Regions from separate parts of the Homo sapiens genome. Here region 1 is linked to region 2. Evidence: promoter capture Hi-C in human tissues and cell types (Jung and others, 2019). All regions are on one chromosome and are shown on one strand. The core of a region is centred on a gene start or on the middle of the fragment in contact, and the rest is flanking DNA. Distances in the headings are between cores, read along the strand shown. Region 1 has its middle 78 kb from the start of TRHR. Region 2 holds the start of TMEM74 (transmembrane protein 74).

Region 1 (6,723 bases), core at 1,227-3,726, 380 kb before region 2:
AAGAAAAATTATAGAGATCTTTGGTTTCCCTGCCTTGCTCAGTAATCTCTTCATAGCTCTTGTATTTATAGGCTTTACAAATAGAGTTTTAAATATCAACTGATTGGTGGCAAACAAATCAAGATAATTATTCTACCACACATGAAGACATGTTTTGCTCTCAGCATCTGTATAGTTTAAAGCTTTGATTAGTTGCTCAAACTGCAGAGTCCTGAAGGTTGGCTTATTTCCTCATTCAAAGAAAGCTTGTTATGTCAGGAAGTTTGGACATCAGGAAATAGCAGAGGCATATTGAGAGAGGCAAACTATACAGCGTAGAGGAAAACTTAGTTTTATATTATTTATTTAAAATCATTATGAGGTTAAAGCACCAGTGTTCCCAGTAAGTCCAGTAGATAGTTATTGCCTGAAAAAAATTCTTGGCGATGATGATGATAAAAATAGGATCTAGAAAGAGGTTGTGACATTTTCTTCACTAACAAGGCATGGAATGAAGACTTAGATTGTCACTAATAGAGAAGTTATAAGTATGACTGAAAGGGACACTATGAAGTAACCAACATGAATTAATAAAAAAGACTGTCTAATGGCATAGGACCAGGGAAGCACATGTGACATAGATGAAAGTTTACTGGACTTGTATTTGGACTTGAGTTATTCATTTTTCCATTCATTTAACCAATATTTATTGAGTATTTACTATATGCCTGAACCCAAACTAGGTAATTGAATACAATGGTGAGCAAAACTGACATAATCTTATTCTCACAGAACATAGAATTTAAGGAGAAAGATGGACATTAAAAAGTGAATACAGTGTTTTTAGTTTCAACATGTACAGATCTTGGAAATCTTCATTTCTGTCTTTAAAACAAGAAAAAATTTGAACAAACTGAACATTAATGACTTTTCTTGGACCCATCAGAGAACTGAGTTCACAGGGTACCATATTTCAATCTGGAAAGAAAGGTAAATTTAGGGAGTTATAGCAGAGATATGCTTAGCTGGAGCAGAAATCAAACTGGTAAGAACATATAAATGATGATGTTGATAATTCTTGACATATGCAAATTTTAAAGAAATTATTTAAAACGTCAGCAGATCCCAGGATGGAATTCAGAATCTAACTGTATTACAAATGTGTGAAACAACCACTGCATTGAAGGTACTGGGGAAAAGAGCACCAACCTAACTGGAAATGAGTGGAATCTATAAGACTAAAGGCAAAAAGAACTGCACATAAGCACTGTACTCTAACTGATAAAGTTGTTTCCCACAGGAGTATGAGGTAACAATTTGATATCACTATATGTGTATATCAGAATTGAAAAACAAAGCAAATGGATGTAAATGGTGGGTTTCTCACTACTGGAATGGGGGGATATAGATAAACAAGAGGAGAATGATTCATGTGGTAATGGATTAGAGTTGGAGATATCAGTATAAGCTCATGTTTAGTCTAATATAAATACTAGCCTGATGAGACTGAGAGTATGGAAGAAGGCCAGTACAGTTTGAGAGGAGAAAGAGTGAGGGTCCATGGTAGGCCAGGCTGCTGAGGCCTGCTTGAGGCAGACCATGCAGGACCTTGTCTGCATGTCAAAGCATTTTCATGTGTATCCTTAGGGCACTGAAAAATCATAGAACGGTTTTAACCAAGGCATTGATGGCATCTTTTTGAAAAGATCTCTAGCTGAAGTATAGAGAATGGATTAAAGGAAGGCATAAATGTATGTAGGTTAGAGCAGTTATGAGGATACCACAGTGGACAATGTCAGAGGCAATGGTGGCTTAGTCCAGGGATGGGGAGTGGGTGAGAGTAAATGGCATTAGAATCTCAGCTCTACCTAACTAGCAGTTTGCATGTGAGTAAGTTACTTGTCCTTATGAAGGAAAATTAAAAACACTTAGGGCAAATTGTTGTCTTACTTAATTTTATAGATTTCAGTCATGGACATCCTACAATCCATGCTAGCATTTATCACATGTGTAGTTAACAATATTTCCCAATTTCATCCCAGCAGTTTAAGCCATTTCTTCTCATTAAAACTCATGTTAAAAGAGAGAGTAATTTGCTAAATATTTTTATATACTTTTTCTTTTACTGGAAAATAGTTATCAAAATATATAAATCTGTATATTTTTGCCTTCCTTTAATTCATATTCTATAAATTTAAAATTGATTAACATTACCTGTCTCAATTTTCTCTCTTGTTAAAAAATATGACATTCAGGACAGATCCAATCATAGTTATCTCTTAAAAATATCAACTTTCTTACAATTAGCAATGTTTGAATGTTGTTTCAAAAACTAATGCTAAAATTGAGTAGTAATTTCCCTAGTCAATAAAGCATCTTACTCTGTTTTGATCATCACATTTCAAAAGAAGTTTTTAGTGCTAAGTCTCAAAAACAATGACATCCTAAAAAACATGACAGTGAGGAAAGGTTAAATGAGTTAAAATTATTTACCTTACATGAAAAGAAAATGAAATCATGATTTTATGACTATTTTCCAGGAAAATAAAAATTATATAAAAAGATTTAGTGAATTATTCTCTTTTCGCATAGGTTTTAATGAGAAGAAATGGCTTACATTGCTGGGAATGAATTGGAAATACTGTTAACTATGCATGTGATAAATACTAGCATGGATCGTAGGATGTTCATGCCTGAAATCTGTAAAACTAGGTAAGACAACAATTTGCCTTAGATGTTTTTAATTTTCCTTCATAAGGACAAGGTGGTTGCAGCAGAAGGCCCCTGGAGGTCTCTTTCAACCCTTTCATTCCATGAGAGAAGGGATTAGTATCTACTGATTCTGACTTGGTGACAGCTGCTTTTATCATGTTCCTTAATCCTTACAGTTATCCTGTGAGGTTGGGTAATTAATACTGCTTTATCCATCTCAAACACTTTTTTCCTTCAATTCTTTCTCCATGCCCTGGAAAGAGCATCTTTTCGGATGTGATGGAAATAACAATTGAGCCTCCAAACTGCTTGTAAATCTTTTTTATGTGTAGCAGTTAAACTGTTTATAGTCACAGACTCAGGTGCAAACACGAAACTTTATTCCTCATTTCTGCTTGGTGGTGAAAAACATCATTTTGCTAAGCTAAGGAAACTCAGTCACTGCCAGTTTAGAGCTCAGGCTCTGTAGCCTCCCTCCTCCCCTTTCTTCCCCTTATCTCCTTGAGAGGTGTCTGGAATTAGGGGAGATTCTGCCCTATGTAACATCATGAAGTGGGTGACATGAAGATCCAAGATCATCTTCTGACCTTGCTTGTCTGTACTGATGGGTGCCTTGTGCTAGCAGGTCCTGAGGCTTCGCATCTCGTACTGCTGCATCTGCTGACAGTGTCATTTCTACCACAGCCTTTAGTTAGCTGGATACCATGGTATGTATTAGCCTTACCTCAGGCATGAGCTTTCTTTTGGCCTACTGTTAATTTCTCTGCCTCTCTTGGAGACCTGAGCGAGGTCTCCCATGTAGCTTTAGATCTGAAGGAGACTTGGAGGGAACGTATCAGGTCCACACCCATTGCTCATCCACTCTCTGGTGTTGTTTGAATGCAAGGCTTCTCTTAGAGATATGCATTCTCTTTGGGCTAAACTTTGGAAAGAAAGGCTATATCCTCTCCACCCTAGGATCCCTCTAAACTGATCTGCCACCTGGGATTAAAATAGAGTAGGAAAGTGTGGCAGAAGTTTTCTCAGGTGCTCCACATTCATATCTCTCTTTTGCTTTTCTTTTTAAGTTCTTGTCCTCTTTCTCCATAGCCCATAATGGGTTTTAACCACCTATCTGGGTGTTAAGAAAGATATTCTTGTGCCATCACTCATTCTTCTCTGCTGTATGTTTTGAGTTTTCCAATCTTTGCCTTTAATCAATAAAGCCAAGCTTTTTGAATTCCCCCTAAGTCCACCAGAAACTTCCCACAGAAAAACCAAGTAGCATAAAACTATTATGTCTTTCAAATGCCTGGTTCTTGCACTGGAAAGTCACTACTTTCAAGACATTTTGGAACAAAAATCCCAAAATTTGACACTCTTTTCTTACTGGATTCTTTATATTCTCTCTTCTAGAACAATAAATCTTAGCTTAATGGTCTATGTTTTTGTTTTGCTTTTGTTTTAACTAACTTTGATATTGAAATATACACAGAGGTGTGCAAAAAAAAAATAATAAGCATACAGCTTATTGGCTTACTGCAAAGTGAATACTAGTGATACCATCACCCACATCAAGAAACAGAATTTTACCAGTGCCCTAGGAATCCCTTAGCCCCACTCCTTCCTCAGATACCACTCAACCTTCAAAAGGACCACTGGTCCAATTTCTTTTTTTTTTTTTTTCTTATTTTTTATTTTTGAGAGAGAGTCTCTCTCTTTCGCCCAGGCTGGAGTGCAGTGGTGCAATCTCGGCTCACTGCAAGCTCCACCTCCCCGGTTCATGCCATTCTCCTACCTCAGCCTCCTGAGTAGCTGGAACTACAGGTGCCCGCCACCACGCCTGGCTAATTTTTTGTATTTTTAGTAGAGGTGGGGTTTCACCCTGTTAGCCAGGATGGTCTCGATCTCCTGACCACATGATCTGCCCGTCTTGGCCTCCCAAAGTGCTGGGATTACAGGTGTGAGCCACTGCGCCCAGCCCCAGTTTCTAATACTATGGATTAATTTTACCTGCTTTTGAATTGTATGTAAATAAAATCATAGAGGATGCATTGTGTTTGACCTGTTTAGCTCAATATTACATTTGTGAGAAGCATTCCTATTGTTGTTGTGTAGCAGCAGTTTGTTCATTTTCATTGCTGTATATTGCATTGTATGATTTTCCACAATGTATTTATCCATTTTATTGTTGATGAATATTTAGGTTGTTTCCAGTTTTTGGCTATTGTAAATAATACTTCTAAAATAACTCTTGTCCATTTCCTTTGGCATACATTGTATGCATTTATGTTAGATAAACTCTTTGGAATGAAAATATTCATCTTTCAATTGCAGTACTTAGTCTAGATACAATATTATTCTTTTAATAGCTTCCTATCTTGACTTCTTGCCTTTCTCTAATGCATTCTCTAAACTATAGATGGAGTACTCTTCCTAAAATCAAGCCATATCCTATAATTTATGTTTTTAAACCACTTCAATTGGGTCGCATTGCTTGGGAATGAATTACAAACCCCTTCCATGGCCCACAGGCCTTCTGCTAGTTGGCTTCTGCTTGCTGCAGCTTTCACTCTTTGCTCTAGCTAAACCTTGTTCACCTTTCCTAAATGTGCTCCTTCACAGATGTTTACTCTGCTATAAACTCAGTTTTCTTTCACTCTTTGCCCATCTCCGTCCCCACTCCTTTCTATGATTTTATCTGGCTAACTTCTACTTACTTCTCAAGTCATAGCTGGTCATTTCTGAGATAACATGGAAGGTTGAATTGTCAAATTCTGGGCATATGGGAAATCACAACACTCAAGTGAAACATGGAGAAGTCTGAGCATGTCAACAAAGTCACCCAGTTCTGTTCTTCCCATACTAGGATGTGTATTAGAACACATGAGGACCTAAATGAAGCTTCAGTGATATTACTTACATAAAGGGAGTCATTTCAGTAATGGAATATCTCTTTTATTTGACAGTTTACATGACATTTCCTAGTGAGCTATGTTTCATAAACTCATAAATTCCAGCTTTAGTTATAATAAGCAACCTAGATAGACCACAGTTAGGACATCTCATAGAAAGGACTCTCCCCCTAGAAAATACTATCAGCTCTATCATTAGTGTGATTACAAAGGGTTTGACTGTGGCATCTCTTCCTAGAGGTTGATTCTTGGCAATCTCTTCCTTCTCCTGGAGGAAGAAACAGATTATAAACCTGCTGTTAATCCTTTTCTTCCCAGTTTCCTAATGTAAGCACTTCTGACCCTCTAAATCTGGACTGGTATCCCTACCAATATTTCTGTAGTTTTGAGTTTCTTCCACCCAAGTGATTGCCAGTGTATTATAACTTCTTGGTCCATTGTTGCCTGTAGCCTCTTCAATGCTGTGAACTCCGTGAAAATGATGATTATATGTAATTGTTTACCATTGTATGCCTGATGCCTGGCAGTGTGCCTGAGACATACAAAAGACTCAAAAACATATATGAATTGGTATATCTGTTCCTTTAAACTAAAGTCATTTGTTTATTCAGTATGGAAACTTGTTTGAACAAAGTTTATATTGACTTTAGTAATTTTAGCATAGCAGAAAGAAAAAGATTCATGAGTTTCTTGTACAAACCTTGTCATAATAATTAGATTTTTATATTCTCATCAAATATGAGGCATAATATATGTATTTGACCTTTTTGGAGATATATTATTTATTCCCAAGCACATTTCCACTGACTTACATTTTTCTGTTTCATGATCCTTCTGTCTTTTTTTTTTTTGTCATTTTCTCACTCTTCCGTTTCTCTTATTTTCCATTTTTACCTATTTGTGATTTACATTTTCCTTTTGTCTTTTAAAAAATCCACTCCCTTTCCTTAGTTTTTGTCACCAGATAGATAGAATTTTAAAAATTAAATTTCCCGTCTGTTTGAATTCAATATTAAATAGTAAGATTCTTGTTATTAAAATAATTAGGAGTTTAGAGCTAGCTTTTTTCCATGAAGGCTCGCCTCCAGTTTATCCAGGAGGCTAACTGATAAGATTATGATAAGCCTGCTAACACTAA
Region 2 (7,446 bases), core at 816-3,315:
CAATAATACTGCCTCCCTTGTGAAGTTGGTGTAAAAATTAAAGATGATAACATAATAGCACTAACAAAAAAGTATTATTGTTATTTGTTCTGCTTTTACCCTTTTAAATATACTATAGAATTCTTCTTCTATTTTTAGAAACTTCAGAATATTTGAAGCTAGTTTATTGTTTCCTCTCAGTATTCTCCTATGGCTAAATAGCCTAAGTTCCTAAGTTTTTCCTCGTCAACATAAATTCAAGTTCCTTCTACATCTTAGTTTCTCTCTTTATTTCTTTTTGCATATGTAGTACTAAGAACTGGATGCATCCCTGTAGATTTGGCTTGACAAACTAGTCCTTGAAGTGTGGATGGAATAGGGCAGTGGAGGAAAGATATTCATGCTGGAGAACCGTGTAGTAAGCAAAGGAGAAGTCATAATACATCTGTCATGTTTATCAACAAATGGGCCTCACTGGCTACAAATATAATCATATGGGGGAAAAAGAATTTTAAAGAGGGAGCATTGTGAACTCCTGTAATCATGTGACTATAGATTCTATCCAATGTAATGAAATACCAACATAATTGTCATTAAAGGAGATAGATCTCTCTTTTGAAAGCAAGCAACCACAGTATTTATGTGAGCTACAAGCACAATGTCATAATACATACTATAATCCCTAATCCCTTTTTTCTTTTTTTCTTTTTTTTTTTTTTGAGACGGAGTCTTGCTTTGTCGCCAGGCTGGAGTGGTGCAGTGGCACGATCTCTGCTCACTGCAACCTCCGCCTCCGGCTTCAAGCGATTCCCCTGCCTCAGCCTCCTGAGTAGCTGGGAGTACAGGCACGCGCCACCACGCCCGGCTAATTTTTTCTATTTTAGTAGAGACGGGGTTTCACCATGTTGGCCAGGATGGTCTCGATTTTCTGACCTCGTGATCTGCCCGCCTCGGCCTCCCAAATTGCTGGCATTACTGGCGTGAGCCATCGTGCCCAGCCCATCCATACTATAATCCTTTTTTGCTCCCCTAGAATTGTCCCAACAGGATGCTGGAAAACTGGAGATTATCTGCAAGCTACACATACCCTGGGCTTTCAGTGGCTGTTGGCTATTGCAGTCCACTCTGGTTGAAAGAGGCTGGTGACACAGTTACCTTGTCCTATCCTAAGAGTCACAACTCAGAAGATTCAACCTTCAGATTTCCTTTATTCCTGAGCCCTTTTATTCTGGCCTTCTGGTCTTTCTTCCATTCATTCCATATAGCATAACGCTTAGAATCTGTTGGTGTTCATCCCCCCCCCCCCACCTCTGCTAAGTATTAGTTGTGTGACATTGGGCAAATTATTCTACTTTGTAACTCAGTTTTGCCTTCTGTTAAAATGAGGATTTTTTTTTACAGTACTTTAACAATAAATTGTGACCATTAAATGAGATAATGTATCTATAGTGCTTAGAAGAGAGCCTGGCAATAATAAGCGCTATTTATGTTAACTGTTATTTTGAGTCATTATTATTCATACATTCAACGAATACCACTGTGCTAAATACAGGGGATGTGTTGGTACATCGGACAATCTCTTACCCCTTATGGTCATATTTCTTCTGATTTTGTGAGACACGCAATGACTTTCGAATCTGACTCCTGGATGCAATTTCAGAAGCTGCTGTTGGTAACTGTGGATGAGGCACTTACCCTCTCTGAGCCTGTTTCCACATCTGTAAAATGAGGATTAATAAAATCTACTTGGAAGATTTGTTTTGACTATTAAAAAGACAAAATATGCAAATTATCTGGCACATTTGAAGTCGAATATACTTTCCTTTTCACAGTCTTGTGGCCACACCTGAGGCTAGGGAACTCCACTCTAGGCTTAGAAAACAGTGCTGTCTTCTTAAGTGCTGGGGAGGAGTAAGAGGGTATGGCGGGAACTCATCTGCAGGAAGGGTAAAACCCAGAAGGCGTGGGAGGAGACAGAGACAGGAGGGATGCAGGGACCGCCCCTGGCCTACAACTCCCGGGATGCTCCGGGAGCGCCCCGCCCCGCCCCACCCCGCCCGCCGTGGCGGGCGCTGCCCACCCGGCGGAGCCGAGCGGCGTGCAGAGGCTACAAGTGCCGTAGCTGGTGATTGGGGGACTTTCTCCGGGAACCGTGCCGGGAGAGCGCGCGGTGCTGGAGCCGCACCGGGTGGCCGAAGCAGAAGGTGAGTGGCGGGGAGTGGGATGGGGTGGAGGCTTTGAATGCAAGGGTGAGAGCCCTGGAGCCTAGCAGAGCTGGAGCGCATATCCCCGCTCTCTCTCCTTCGTCTCCGAGTACTAGGCGGACACATCCGTACCTCGAATGCCTCAGTGGGCGCAGAGTTCACCAGAAATGGATAGCCGGATTCCTCGGCGCCTGCTGGGGGCACCGCTGCCAGGTGCTTGGGGCTCGCTCTCCCGGCTTTGCTCGCACAGGGCGCATCCAGAGGTCGCCTCCCCGAGATCAGCCTTGCCTGTGTCAGTTTAAAGCAAATATTAATGCTTTTAATTGATGACAGATGGACGAGGGAAAGTGCGTGTCCCCTCGCTTTAAGGTGCAATGTCGTTAACTGGGCTTTTAAGCAGATCAGAGGAAAAAGAGGGAGAGGACGGAAGAAAAGAGTCTTTAGCTGGTCCCCTGGGATTATCCATTCTCCACTGAGAATGGAAACCCCGGATTAGGGAGCTGCAAAGGAAATCGACTGTGCTGCTAGCATACCTCCGGTAGAACAAGCGAACAAGCGGGAGTAGCTTTTCTTTAAAGAGAGGTAGAGGCGGCCGTAGGGAATTAAGTGGGGATTTCTCTCTTCTTTTGTTATAAACTGAAAGTCTCAAAGAACCCTGCTGATTTTATCCAAGGTAGGCTAGTGTGATGAGTTAATGGTACCAAAGGTTAATCAGAGCCCCTAATGCCTGAGAAAACTGGAAGAAGAGTTATCGGTAATTGATGAAGCCTGTTACCATCACTTCATTCATTGAGGGATCCTTTAGTGGGGGTTTGTTCTAGTTTAGTAGTGATTCTTTTGCCCTGTTGTTTTTTGCTGTTTTCACTGTAGAGAAACTCCGATAACAGGAGAAAAACGTTTTCTGTTTTGCTTTTTTTGTTTTGTTTTAAACAAACTCTTAGGTGTAGCAGAAAACATGTCAATTCCCTCTCCCATATTTTGAGTTGCCAGGTTGACCTTAGGTGACCCTTGCCTGTGTTTCTGTTACCAGCTTTGGAGCTGTGGATTTTGAATTATAAGAAGCCTCAAGCCGTTGGGTTAAATCAATTATCACCCTGGATTTGGAAGCAAAATAAAAGGAGCCTTTGGTTAAAATCTCTAATGATAGTGGAAAGTGAATTTTTATTCCTTAGAAACATGGCAGAGGCAGAGAAAAGCCGATGGTTTTCTGCTCAAACCAAAGTTCTCTCCCAGAAATGCCCCTTGCTGCAGTCGGGGGTGAGGAGTGACATGTTTATAAAATTACAGAGGTAACCTTGGAAATAGCTTCTCACCTATTTGTCTCCACAGAACTCTTACTCTGTGGGTTTATAGTTTGTCTTTTATTATCAGTTCACTTCTAGATTGGGTTTGTAAAACTATCCAGATGGTCAATTTCTTGTGCATTGTGTGATAGCAAAGCATGCAGAGAGGGAGGAACACAGACCCAGGGAACGGGAGTAGCAGATCCTGCAGCTGGAGCAGGCAGGTGTGTGTGTGGAGGAGTGGGTTGGCCCATTGTATTTTGCAGGGATTGCCGTAAGGTCTGTTGCCTGTATGCTTTGGGGTCCAGAACATGCTTCCCCCATGGAGCAGTGAGGGAATAGGGCTAAGTGGAAGCACAGTGAATAAGCAGCATATGGTCTTGTAAATACAGGGCTGTGTCACTAGGGTCATTGGATGTATGAGGTGTAAGCTTAGCAGAGGTGGCTGATTAAGCTGGCCTTTTTCATCTACTTCAGAGCTATGGAATCAAAATGCTGAGTTCCTGCCCAGCTGATAGGGGTGTATAGTCATTCACTGATGGTGATGCTCCAAAGCTAATCTGTATTAGAATTTGCTCTGAACTAGGGAGAGTGTAAACACTTACAATCTTACTGAATTAACAAGTCTATGCTTCCCCAAGTCCTCCAGAAAATCGGCAGCTCTGCTAAAAAGGGCTCTTGCCTTTCTCATTTGTCTTTTTACAGGAAACTTGCCTTCTCGTTTGAGGGATCCTTTTGCAGGAATGCGCGAGTCCTTGAATAAATTTGGCTTGGTGACGGCAGTATTCTTTCTCAGTAGACACTGCCACTTCCTCCACGCACCTTTCTACCCTGACTTAAGTTTCTCAGTGTTAATCACTATGACAAGTGAGAGCATTTGTCCCTTCCACACTTTCCTGCCACTAGGTATCCCCTCCCTTCTTTTGCCTGTTTGAGGTGGAAAAGGGGCTAAACAGGTGCAGCTGTGAAGGAAATGGGGACCCCAGGAGCAACACTCCTGGAAGTACAACCTTAGCTTCTGTTGGGTTCTTATCTAACTCTGTTGCTATTGGCAGACTTTCCGGAAGCTGCTGGGGGATGTCTGACTAGCTCTCATGGAGCTCCACTACCTTGCTAAGAAGAGCAACCAGGCAGACCTCTGTGATGCCAGGGACTGGAGTTCAAGAGGGCTGCCTGGTGACCAGGCAGATACAGCAGCCACAAGAGCTGCTCTCTGCTGTCAGAAACAGTGTGCATCCACCCCAAGAGCAACCGAGATGGAAGGGTCTAAACTTAGTTCTTCTCCAGCATCCCCCTCCTCCTCTCTGCAAAACAGTACTCTTCAGCCAGATGCCTTTCCACCAGGACTTCTCCACTCAGGGAACAACCAAATAACAGCGGAACGGAAAGTCTGTAACTGCTGCAGCCAGGAATTAGAAACTTCTTTTACCTATGTGGACAAAAACATCAACTTGGAGCAGCGGAACCGGAGCTCGCCATCAGCAAAAGGGCATAATCACCCTGGGGAGCTTGGCTGGGAAAATCCAAATGAGTGGTCCCAAGAGGCTGCCATATCTTTGATATCTGAAGAGGAGGATGATACAAGTTCAGAAGCCACGTCTTCAGGGAAGTCTATAGACTATGGTTTCATCAGCGCCATCTTGTTCTTGGTCACTGGGATCCTGCTCGTGATCATCTCTTACATCGTCCCACGGGAAGTGACTGTGGACCCCAACACTGTGGCAGCCCGGGAGATGGAGCGCCTGGAGAAGGAGAGTGCGAGGCTGGGGGCTCACCTGGACCGCTGTGTGATTGCGGGGCTCTGCCTCCTCACGCTGGGGGGCGTCATCCTGTCCTGCTTGTTAATGATGTCCATGTGGAAGGGGGAGCTCTATCGTCGAAACAGATTTGCCTCTTCCAAAGAGTCTGCAAAACTCTATGGTTCTTTCAACTTCAGGATGAAAACCAGCACGAATGAAAACACTCTGGAACTGTCCTTGGTAGAGGAAGATGCGCTTGCTGTACAGAGTTAATTCTGGTTGTGAATATCTTGAGAGTCTGCCTTGGCATTTTATAATATGAAAAAAGTTAATTTATAAAAATTCACAGTGCAATTTATTTGCCTGGCAAGAAAAGTTTATTTCACAAACCAACAGCCAGTAAGTGTTTTTGTTCTCTATGTGTCTTCTATTTAGAAGAAAAGCCATGTAAGATGTATAAGAAACCACAACCAGCCACACCTATCCTTCTGAAGAGCTGAAGGCTAATTAATCTGTAATGGCCAAGAACTTCTACTTCGATAGAAAAATATTTCTAATGACCCAGTCTACAAATTATTTCTTTTACACAAATATATGATGTTATTCTTTGGACACTAGGTGGTCCTACACACAGTAGGATCAATTGCTAATCTACTTTGTGAAAAAGAACTAAGCACTAATCAATAATAAGGCTTACATCTAATTCTCAAAGGTGCTTATCCATTTTCTTGCTAAATTATCCTTCTTGTAATTTGGCTAAACACTAAAACATGGAATTTTTAGTTTGAATATTTTGAAGTTTGAGGATGTTGGGCTTTCCTTATTGTAAAAAATGTTATGTTTGAAATTATTCCTGTTTTCAAAAATGGTAATTAAGTCATTAGGATAAACTTTCTAATAAAAAAAAATTATGTAAATCATTGTAAGACCAATGTGAATTTAAACCACAGTGTTGGTGCCAGATATTAGCCAGGGTCACAGGCTCTTTTTTAAAATGAAGTCAAATTAGTTACTGATATAAGTTTTATATTTTGTGATTTTGCCATCATACTGGTTATCTGTGCTCTTGAAGTCTGCTGGTTCTCACACCAGCAGCAAGAGGCAAGGCATGAGACATTTTAAATATATTTCCAGACATCTAAACATCTAGACAGGCCTGAGTCATGATTGGCTCTGGTGTGCTTCCAGGTAACATCTTGTTATTGCTGTTTGGGGAAAACCACCAATAGAATTGCAGCTAGACTTTTGGGGACTGTGCCTCGCAGGCTGTATCACTTGCTGTAGGCCAAGCAACGAGCACTTCCCTCATGGTAGCAACAGTCCTTAAGCCCAAAGCCAAAAAAAAATAAAATGGAAAGAGAGATTCAATACACTGATTTAATGGGGACTGTAGTCATCGTCAGAACTCACCTCCCACTCACAGTGGTCTAGATGTCATTCAGCAACTGTGAACTCTTGCCTCATGCAGCACAAACTCTTCTCTAAGAGCAGCATGATGAGCAAGGTGCTCACTTTGCAAGACACACACTGGGTGTTCACAGTGACAGACCGCCTCATTATGGTGACGGTTCAGAAAAGGGATGGGAAATGCAGCCTCAGAAATACCTTACATTTTGCAACTCTGCCTGGAGGTTTTTCCAACCTGTGCTCTAAGAGTTGTTGTAACTTCCATGATTGTGTTACCAGGATCAGGGGGTCATTCTTAAAAAGAGGACAGGAGCTGGGAATTGGTATGAGACAGCAGGAATGAGGAAGTAAGAAAGTGATTTCTTTGCAGATTTTTAAAGGCTATTTCAAATGTCTGAAGTTTGTGGTGTTGTGGACAACTGTGGAATACATGGGTGACTTTGGCAAAATGTGTGAATCAGGATATTTATGTGGATGAGCTCTCATGGGTGTCAGATTGATTTGATGAGTGAGGTATGCTGCATATGACTTAAGGGTTGAACTGAAATACAAAAAGGGAGGCTCAGAAGATAGTAAAAAGAGAGGATGGGCATATGAAAGAATTATTAAGTAAAAATGAGAAATTATATGGCCATCAGAGGAAGCTAGATGTAGTTAATTGCCTTATGTTATAGAGCAATACTGATTACTGAAAAGAAAGAATTGAGATGACATAAACATGATTTTTGCTTTCTGTTGCTGTATTTTTGTGCTTTTTGAACAAACTTTGTTTTACTGTGACTCTCATTTCATGATTTTTGTTGAGGCTGCCTTACCAGTGGTATAAGTTTTATA

The links. Contacts are between HindIII fragments. The study calls those that stand out against the background at their distance.
Region 1: a contact is called between a fragment that was not itself captured here and the fragment with the promoter of TMEM74 in region 2, in 2 of the 25 tissues and cell types used here (mesendoderm cells and small bowel).

What each region holds. Positions count from the first base shown.
Region 1 is chr8:109,160,736-109,167,458 of GRCh38, reverse strand. No RefSeq gene overlaps it. Among named protein-coding and RNA genes, the nearest start is that of TRHR, 78 kb to the right of the region's middle. The HindIII fragment of the contact is 4,524 bases long and covers 215-4,738 here.
Region 2 is chr8:108,782,213-108,789,658 of GRCh38, reverse strand. It overlaps TMEM74 (transmembrane protein 74), which reads left to right and starts at 2,065. Exons shown (of 2, transcript NM_153015.3): 1 at 2,065-2,183; 2 at 4,522-7,446. The coding sequence starts at 4,561. The coding sequence ends at 5,478. RefSeq lists silencers at 1,950-2,129, 2,545-2,839. The HindIII fragment of the contact is 13,104 bases long and covers 1-5,836 here.